Linked DNA regions of Homo sapiens: region 2 is linked to region 1. The links are contacts of gene promoters, found by promoter capture Hi-C in human tissues and cell types (Jung and others, 2019). All regions are on one chromosome and are shown on one strand. The core of a region is centred on a gene start or on the middle of the fragment in contact, and the rest is flanking DNA. Distances in the headings are between cores, read along the strand shown. Region 1 holds the start of AGFG2 (ArfGAP with FG repeats 2). Region 2 holds the start of EPHB4 (EPH receptor B4).

Region 1 (4,148 bases), core at 47-2,546:
GTAAATTCACTCTGGCATGACCGAACAGTACCAATGCCAAGAGTAGCACTCAGATGATGCACCAAAGCCCCCCCAAAATCTAGAGTTTCCTGGATGCTACCACCAGGATCCAGTCATGGCAACAGGGATCTTAAAGGTGTAAATGATTAACCTTCAGGATGGCTCACCTAGACGTGCAAACGTTTGAAAAAGCTAAGCTCTCTACCAGGGTAACCCATTGGCTCTCATCTCTTAGATTTCGTAAGAGTTTTACCTTCTGGGTAACATTTCAAAGCCCTGCTAAGATTAGTATCTACACCTGAACTCTGGACCATGGCTCCCTTCCAGCCACTATCTCTAGGCTGTCAATCGGGGTTAATTCGCTTTTTTTTTTTTTTTTAATCCTGTACTCTAATCATAGGAATTTCAACCAAGTTTCAGCTGGCTTCTGCATCTCACACTCCAGCAGGGACACAAGCCCGAAGGAAGAAAGGTGCCCGTCCATCTCCAGGCCGGCTTTCCCCACCTTTTTCCTTTTTGCTTTCCACCTGCATGAAGTTCCCTCTAAAGGTGCATGTCATTTTCTGGCCCTTTAAGTCCCGACACCCCATCCCACTCCGAGTTCCCTTCCATCCTCCGCACTTTCTCCCTCCCCACTTGCAGTTTGCCTCGACCCCCTCGGGGAGTTTCTCGGTCCCTCTCCGGGCGTCTTTCTGCACCCGTACCCTTCTCTCCGCAGAGCGACTCCGGCCTTGCTTCCTCTCCCCTGCCCTTTCCCCTCCCCACCACACCGCTGCAGCAGACGACCCCGTCCCCACAGCCGGCGCGTTCCCTGACCTCCCCTCCGCCCCTCACCTCGGCCCCCTTCCCTCGCGCCCCGGAGCCCCGGCCTCCCCACCCCGCCCCCGGGTCCCCCCACGCCGACCTCGGCCACTCCCTCCCGGTCACTCACAGGAGGCCGGAGCAGGTGGTGCACACGAAGCTGCCCACGGTGATATCCACGTAGGTGACCCCGCGCTGGGCGCACTCGAAGCAGTGGCGGTTCCCGGCCTGGCTGCAGCCACCCAGCTCCCGCACCCGACGGCACCACACCTCCGAGGCCGCCTCCGCCTCCGCCTTGCCCCCGCTGACCCCGCCGCCCGGGCCCGGGCCCTTCTTCGCCGCCATCACCATCGCTGCCCACTCCCTCCCCGCTAGTCAGCAATCACCCCTTCAACCACTGCCGCCTTCCCGCCTCCTCAGCCGCCTCCGCACGCCCGGCTCCCCTGACAGAAGCTCGGGAGCGGGCGGCATCCGCAGGAGACTTCGCCGTCCACCACCCTCCTTGCCCGTCCTGCACACTGATTGGCTAGGTTTCTCCCACCTCCTTACTCCGATTGGCCCTCCCTGGGACGGCCTCCGGTTGCTGGAGCCGCCAATGCCCCGCCCCACCGCCTTCAGGCCTCAGGCCTCTCCTATTGGCCGGCAGAGACCCCAGCAGCGAGAACCGTGCGTGCCCTCTCCTTGTCCCCGCCCCCTCTCGCCGCTGCCTCCACCGTGGCCCGCCTCCTAGTTCCGATTGGTGAGTCCTCGGCACTCGGGCTCCGACGCTAATTTTGATTGGCTGGCGGGGCTGCAAAGTTAGCGCGCGAGACAGAGGAGGTGCCCCGCGCGTGCGTAGCTGTCGTCCTCCCGACTGATGACGTTAATTCCCGGCAAATTTCAAAGGCTTACTCTAGACTGTGTAGAGTGTCATGCAAAGCCGAAGAGAAGTGGCCATGTGAGGGGCTGAGCAGGAGGGGGAAAGAAGAGAGCGCTTAAGGGAGAGAGGGAGAGGGAGCAAGAGTGCTTTACTAGACCAGTGCTCTAATTCCTGAGCCACAGAGCGAAGGGAGTGCTTTATAAATGTCATTTCATTCGCTCCGCCTATCCCAGAGGTGGAATCCCCATTTTACACCCTTAGGTTCAACAACTTGCGGCAGATCACACGAGTGCGTGGCCCAGGATTCCACTCTGGGTCTTCCAACTTTAGAAACCCTGCCTTTAACCCTCCTAGTAGGTGGACTATTATTCGATTATTCATTTAACAAACACTGAGTGTCTGCTAGGTTTCAGGCACGTTCTAGACACTGGGAATAGAATACAGCAGCGAAGCAATCAAACAAAATATTCTTATAGAGCTTAGTTTCTAGTAGGGGGAAGCAAACAATACACAAATTAAAGAATCACCAGTTAGTAATAAATCCTACGCAGAGAATTAAAATCACATCTTGGAAAAGACTTTTTGGGTACTTTTTTAATTTTTTAATTTAATTTTAATTTTTTGAGATGGAGTCTCACTCTGTTGCCCAGACTGGAGTGCAGTGGCACGATGTCAGCTCACTGCAACCTCTGCCTCCTGGGTTTAAGCAATTCTCATGCCTCAGTCTCCTGAGTAGCTGGGATTACAGGCGGCCACCACCACCCCCAGATAATTTTTGTATTTTTATTATTATGATTATTATTATTTGAGATGGAGTCTCGCTCTGTCGCCCAGGCTGGAGTGCAGTGGCACGATCTCGGCTCACTGCAAGCTTCGCCTTCTGGGTTCACGCCATTCTCCTGCCTCAGCCTCCCGAGTAGCTGGGACTACAGGCACCCGCCACCACGCCTGGCTAATTTTTTTGTATTTTCAGTGGAGACGGGGTTTCACCGTGTTAGCAAGGATGGTCTCGATCTTCTGACCTCGTGATCCGCCGGTCTTGGCCTCCCAAAGTGCTGGGATTACAGGCGTGAGCCACCGCGCCCGGCCAATTTTTGTATTTTTAGTAGAGACAGGATTTCACCATGTTGGCCAGGCTGGTCTCAAACTCATGGCCTCAAGTGAGCCTCCCGCCTTGGCGTCCCAAAGTGCTGGGATTACAAGCATGAGCCACAATGCCTGGCCACCTGTTGGGTACTTCAGATTGGGTTGGTCACCATTTTTAAAACAATTACTTTTTTTTTGAGACAGGGTCTCGCTTTATCACCCAGGCTGGAGTGCAGTGACACAATCATGGCTCACTGCAGCCTCAACCTTCTGGACTCAAGTGATCCTTCCACCTCAGCCTTCCAAGTAGCTGGGAGTACAGCTGTGCACCACCATGCCTGGCGAATTTTTAAAAATTTTTTGTAGAGATTGGGTCTCACTATATTGCCCAGGCTGGTCTGGACCTCCTGGGCTCAAGTGATCCGCCCACCTCAGCCTCCATCTCCCAGGTTCAAGCGATTCTCCTGCCTCAGCCTCCCAAGTAGTTGGGATTACAGGTGCGTGCCACCATGTCCAGCTAATTTTTGTATTTTTAGTAGAGATGGGGTTTCACCATATTGGCCAGGCTGGTCTTGAAGTCCTGACTTCAAATGATCCACCCACCTTGGCCTCCCAAAGTGCTAGGATTACAGACGTGAGTCACCGCACCCGGCCTCTTTTTGTTTTGTTTTGTTTTTTTTGTTTTTTTTTTTTTTTTTGAGACAAGGTCTTGCTCTGCTGCCCAGGTTGGAGGGCAGTGGCACAATCATACCTCACTGCAGCCTCAACCTCCCCAGTTCAAGTGATCCTCCCACCTCAGTCTCCAGGGTAGCTGAGACTACAGGCGCACACCACCATGCCTGGCTAATTTTTGATTTTTTGTAGAGAAGGGGTCTCACTATGTTGTCCAGGCTGGTGGCTGGCAGCCTGCTTTCTCTCTCTCTCTCTTGTTTTTTTCTTTTTGAGACAGGGTCTTACTCTGTCACCCAGGCTGGAGTGCAGTGGCACAATCTTGGCTCACTGCAACCTCCACTTCCTGGGGCTTGAGTGCTCCTCCCACCTCAGCCTCCCGAGTAGCTGGGACTACAGGTGCATGCCACCATGCCCAGCTAATTTTTTGTATTTTTAGCATGTTGGCCAGGCTGGTCTCGAACACCTGAGTTCAGGTCATCTGCCCGCTTTGGCCTCTCAAAGTGCTGGGATTATAGGTGTGAGCCACCGCACCCGGCCCCATTTTTCAATTAATGGCACCATGAGCCACCTAGTTGCCCAAAGCAAAAATCTAGAGCTACTCTCTTCAATACGGCAGCCACTAATCATATGTGGCTATTTAAGTTTAAATTAAATTAAAATGGGCTGGGCGTGGTGGCTTATGCCTGTAATCCCAGCATTTTGGGAGGCCGAGGCAGGCGGATCACGAGGT
Region 2 (4,418 bases), core at 782-3,281, 290 kb before region 1:
CCGGCTGTTTCCTGCCCTCGGTGACCGGCCCACCCCCCCCAACCCGGGCGCAGGACCCAGGCAGAACAGCAAGGAAGGGCAGGGGTGTGGGGAACACCTCTTGCAGCAGGAAGATAAGTAAGCCGGGACAAGAGGTTATCACAGGCCCGGCTGTCCTTTCTGGGACGTAAGGGCGCTTGGCAGCCCCCCAAGCATCCTGGACTCCAACGTCTCTCTTGCTGGGCTCCAACGTCTCTCTTGCTGGGCTCCTCAAGATTCTGTCCTCCGGCTGGGCGCGGTGGCTAACGTCTGTAATCCCAGCACTTTGGGAGGCCAAGGTGGGTGGATCACTTTAGGTCAGGAGTTCGAGACCAGCCTGGCCAACATGGCGAAACCCTGTCTCTACTAAAAATACGAAAACTAGCCGGGGTTGGTGCCCTGTGCCTGTAATCCCAGCTACTCGGGAGGCTGAGGCAGGAGAATCGCTTGAACCTGGGAGGCGGAGGTTGCAGTGAGCCCAGATCACGCCACTGCACTCCAGCCTGGGAAATAGAGGGAGACTCTGTCTCAAAAAAAAAAAAAAAATCTGTCCCCGCTAATTACTGTGGGAGTCTAAGTCCTTTCCTTCTGCCCCTTGGAGGGGCTGACTCCTGGAGCAGCACCCCCTCCAATCCATCTATCCAGTAACCCATACTGTTAAGTTCCCTGAAGTAGAAGGGGGTTGGTGGGAGGAGCACGGCTGTGCTGGACCCTCCCCGCTAACTGATGGGAGGGTGAGGGGAGTTGGCAGTGAGAGGAAGGGCCCCTCCCAGCCATCCCGAGGGCCCCCAGGAGCCAGACAGGAAACAGCTCAGGAAAGACAGCAGCCGCAGCCGCAGCCCCAGCCTCAGGGGTCATGGCTGCGGGCGGCGGGGAAGCCCCCCCAAAACACGAGAGTGAGAGTGAGAAGGGCGATTTGGAGATCTAGCCGGACCCCTCACCCTCTCGGACACACCCACCTTTTTTTTTTTTTTTTTTTTTTTTGAGATTTCGTCTCACTCTGTAGCCCAGGCTGGAGTGCAGTGGCGCGATCTCAGCTCCCAGCTCACTGCAACCTCCGCCTCCTAGGTCCCGGTTCAAGCAATTCTCCTGCCTCAGCCTCCCGAGTAGCTAGGATTACAGGCGCGCGCCACCATGCCCAGCTAATTTTTGTATTTTTAGTAGAGACGGGGTTTCATCATGTTGGCCAGGCTGGTCTTGAACTCCTGACCTCAAATGATCCGCCTGCCTCTGCCTCCCAAAATGCTGGGACTACAGGCGTGAGCCACCGCGCCCGCCACACCCACCTTTTCTTTACCGTTGTTTCCTCGATTTTTCTCTACTCCCTAGCGCAGCTTAGTGCGCGCCTCCTCTGGACATTTTTCAGGGCTTGGTTGCGCGCACAGTAGGTCCCCAACACTGAATGTTTATGGGGTGACTGTGTGAACGTTCGCTGCAAGGCTATCCAAACTGGGATTGCTCCTTGAGGCCCCCTGGGCGGCCGTCAATTCTCCAAAGCTTCTACTCCCTTTTCCTTCCTTTTCCCCCAAAACGCAGTCCCTGCGCCCACTAGAGGGTGGTGGGCGCATCCAAGAGCGGCATCTAGAGTCCGCAGCAAGGTCAGAGCGGGCTTTGTGTGCGCGGTGAACATTTACGTGCACGCCTGGGCGGCCCTCCGTGTTGCTGCTGGGTGTGTGTTTTCTCTGCTCCCTGGTGCCAGCCGGGTTCGGGCCTGTCCCGGGGGTCCCTGGGCCCCAGCCCCGACATGCTCGGTCCTGGACAGCGCGCACCGCCACGGCGCACATCTGGGCGGTCCCGGGGTTCCTCACCCGCCGCCCCTCCCCCTTCTCCAAACTTTCTCTCAACTTCCCGACCTGCTCCACTCGGTGCCCCTCTCCGCTTCCCTCATGAATTATTCAGTAGCGTGAGCTCCAATCAGCGCGCCCGGGGCTCACTCGCGGAGCCCCCGCGTTGGGAGAGCTGCCCCCGCCCCCCGCGCGCCCCTCCCTCCCGGGCCCGGCGCCGCCCGGCCCAGTTCCAGCGCAGCTCAGCCCCTGCCCGGCCCGGCCCGCCCGGCTCCGCGCCGCAGTCTCCCTCCCTCCCGCTCCGTCCCCGCTCGGGCTCCCACCATCCCCGCCCGCGAGGAGAGCACTCGGCCCGGCGGCGCGAGCAGAGCCACTCCAGGGAGGGGGGGAGACCGCGAGCGGCCGGCTCAGCCCCCGCCACCCGGGGCGGGACCCCGAGGCCCCGGAGGGACCCCAACTCCAGCCACGTCTTGCTGCGCGCCCGCCCGGCGCGGCCACTGCCAGCACGCTCCGGGCCCGCCGCCCGCGCGCGCGGCACAGACGCGGGGCCACACTTGGCGCCGCCGCCCGGTGCCCCGCACGCTCGCATGGGCCCGCGCTGAGGGCCCCGACGAGGAGTCCCGCGCGGAGTATCGGCGTCCACCCGCCCAGGGAGAGTCAGACCTGGGGGGGCGAGGGCCCCCCAAACTCAGTTCGGATCCTACCCGAGTGAGGCGGCGCCATGGAGCTCCGGGTGCTGCTCTGCTGGGCTTCGTTGGCCGCAGCTTTGGAAGGTGAGTTTCCTTGCGGGGGGGGGCGCACCCCGTCACTCCTGGGACCTCCCCCCCAACATCTGGGCCTCGGAGTGGAGGGGCCGGCCTCTGACTACCCCTACCCGGGCACTGCAGTCCCAAACACTTCGGACCGATAGTGCTGGAACGGGAGGGGGGCGGGGAAGAGGCGCCCGACGGGTAGTGGAGTTTTCTTTTGTTTGGGAAAGAGATGGAGTCTGGCTACGACCCGGGACATTCCCCTGCCCGGGCTCCCCGAACTCTCACTGCTGATTACATACGCCCCTGGCTGCCTTTCCTTTCCTCCCTACCCCACTATTCAAAACTATCTGCAAAGTTTCTGTCCCAGTCCCACCTCCCGCCGTACATGAGGGAAGGTTTCTGGAGAAGCAACAGCAGACAAGGCACAACTTTTCGTGCTAGGCCCTAAAACGACCCCCAGCGCCAATTCCTTAGCGATCACACCTTGATCCTCCAGTTCCACACTCCTGCAACAGGATGGCCTCCTTTGCATTCACACAGCAAACCCCCAAACCGCTCTCCCGCCCACTGCTCCTGCCCCTGGTATAGGGTGGCTCCTTGGTTTCTACAGGCTGCACCCCATCCCTTTAAATGCGGTCTAGACCCCGGCCCCAGGTGAGTCCCGGGCTTCCCTTGAGACCTAGGAGCGGGTAGAAACTGACCTACACAGCCCCCAGGTAGAAACTGACCTACACAGCCCCCACATCGCCCTAACTAACCCAGTCTATCTCCCACCTCCTGGTCTCTCCAAGCATTTCTTTGGCCATGGATCGCTGTCCCTCCTGGTCCCCTAAAGGGGGAGCCAAGAGCCCTAGAAACTCTCCTGTGTCCCTAATGTCCTTTCAGTGAGCTGCCAACACCCCCCTTTCTCTGTCTGGTATGAAAGTGGTTATGGGGCGGTAGGCTATGAGGGACTCCCAAAGGGAAGGATTCAGCGGCGTTAGAAAAACCCTCTCCCCCTGGCTGGGCAGGACTGCCCTGGGCTGGGGATCAAAGGCTAGGTGTGGGGTTGGGAGTGAGGGGAGGCTTGCCCAGCTCAGAGAACGGAGAAGGGGGAACAAAAACCATGAACGAGGGGAAGAGGAAGGCCAAAGGGGTGGAAAAACCACGAGGACGAGGTGTGGTGAGAAGGAAAGACGCAAAGAGGAAATGGTGATTGTGACACCTATTACCTGAGTGTTTCCAAGCACCAGGCCTGTGCTGAGCGCCTTACAAATATTAATTTCACCCATCCAGCAACGCTAAGGGTGGTGCTATTATTGCCCCCATTTTTCAGATGAGGAGGCTGGGGCTTAGTTAAGGTTAAGTAGTTTATCCAAGGCCCTGTGCCGCGAGGAACAGCGAGAAGTGGAGGCCGAAAGCGAAGGAGAGATAGTGACTGTCAGAAAGAGAAACGGAGGTGGACAGAGAGTGGAGGAGAGATAGGTGAGAGACATGCGAACTGACAGATCAAAGCGTGGCTGCAGCTGAGCTGGGACGCAGAAAGGGAGCCTGCGCTTGCTCTGGGCTGCGGACAGCCCGAGGCAGAGACAGTGTGTAAATTGGAGACAGGAAAACACTATCCCGGCTGGAACAATGGAGGGTGGAGACGGCAGCCTCTATCCACCCCCTTCCCAGAACCCGGGCATCCTGTCCCCAGTGAGCAGGGCTGTCTCTTGCCACCCATGGGGACCTTGCGCCTCTCACCTCAGGCTGGCTGGCTTCCCATCTGACCCCTAGCTGGAGGACATCATTTGGTCCCCAGGAAGAGGCTGCCTCACCCACCCTCTTTCTCTTCTCTCCTGCAGCTCCCATGGGGTGGGAGCCAGGTGTTCTGGCTCCCCTC

What was found. Contacts are between HindIII fragments. The study calls those that stand out against the background at their distance.
Region 2: a contact is called between the fragment with the promoter of EPHB4 here and the fragment with the promoter of AGFG2 in region 1, in 2 of the 25 tissues and cell types used here (IMR-90 fibroblasts and liver).

The regions. Positions count from the first base shown.
Region 1 is chr7:100,536,351-100,540,498 of GRCh38, reverse strand. It overlaps AGFG2 (ArfGAP with FG repeats 2), which reads right to left and starts at 1,296. Exons shown (of 12, transcript NM_006076.5): 1 at 932-1,296. The coding sequence starts at 1,152. RefSeq lists silencers at 936-1,235, 1,286-1,565 and an enhancer at 1,445-1,946. The HindIII fragment of the contact is 17,077 bases long and covers 1-4,148 here.
Region 2 is chr7:100,825,136-100,829,553 of GRCh38, reverse strand. It overlaps EPHB4 (EPH receptor B4), which reads left to right and starts at 2,031. Exons shown (of 17, transcript NM_004444.5): 1 at 2,031-2,575. The coding sequence starts at 2,524. It also overlaps a transcript of SLC12A9 not described here. RefSeq lists enhancers at 1-435, 1,232-2,027. The HindIII fragment of the contact is 16,187 bases long and covers 1-4,418 here.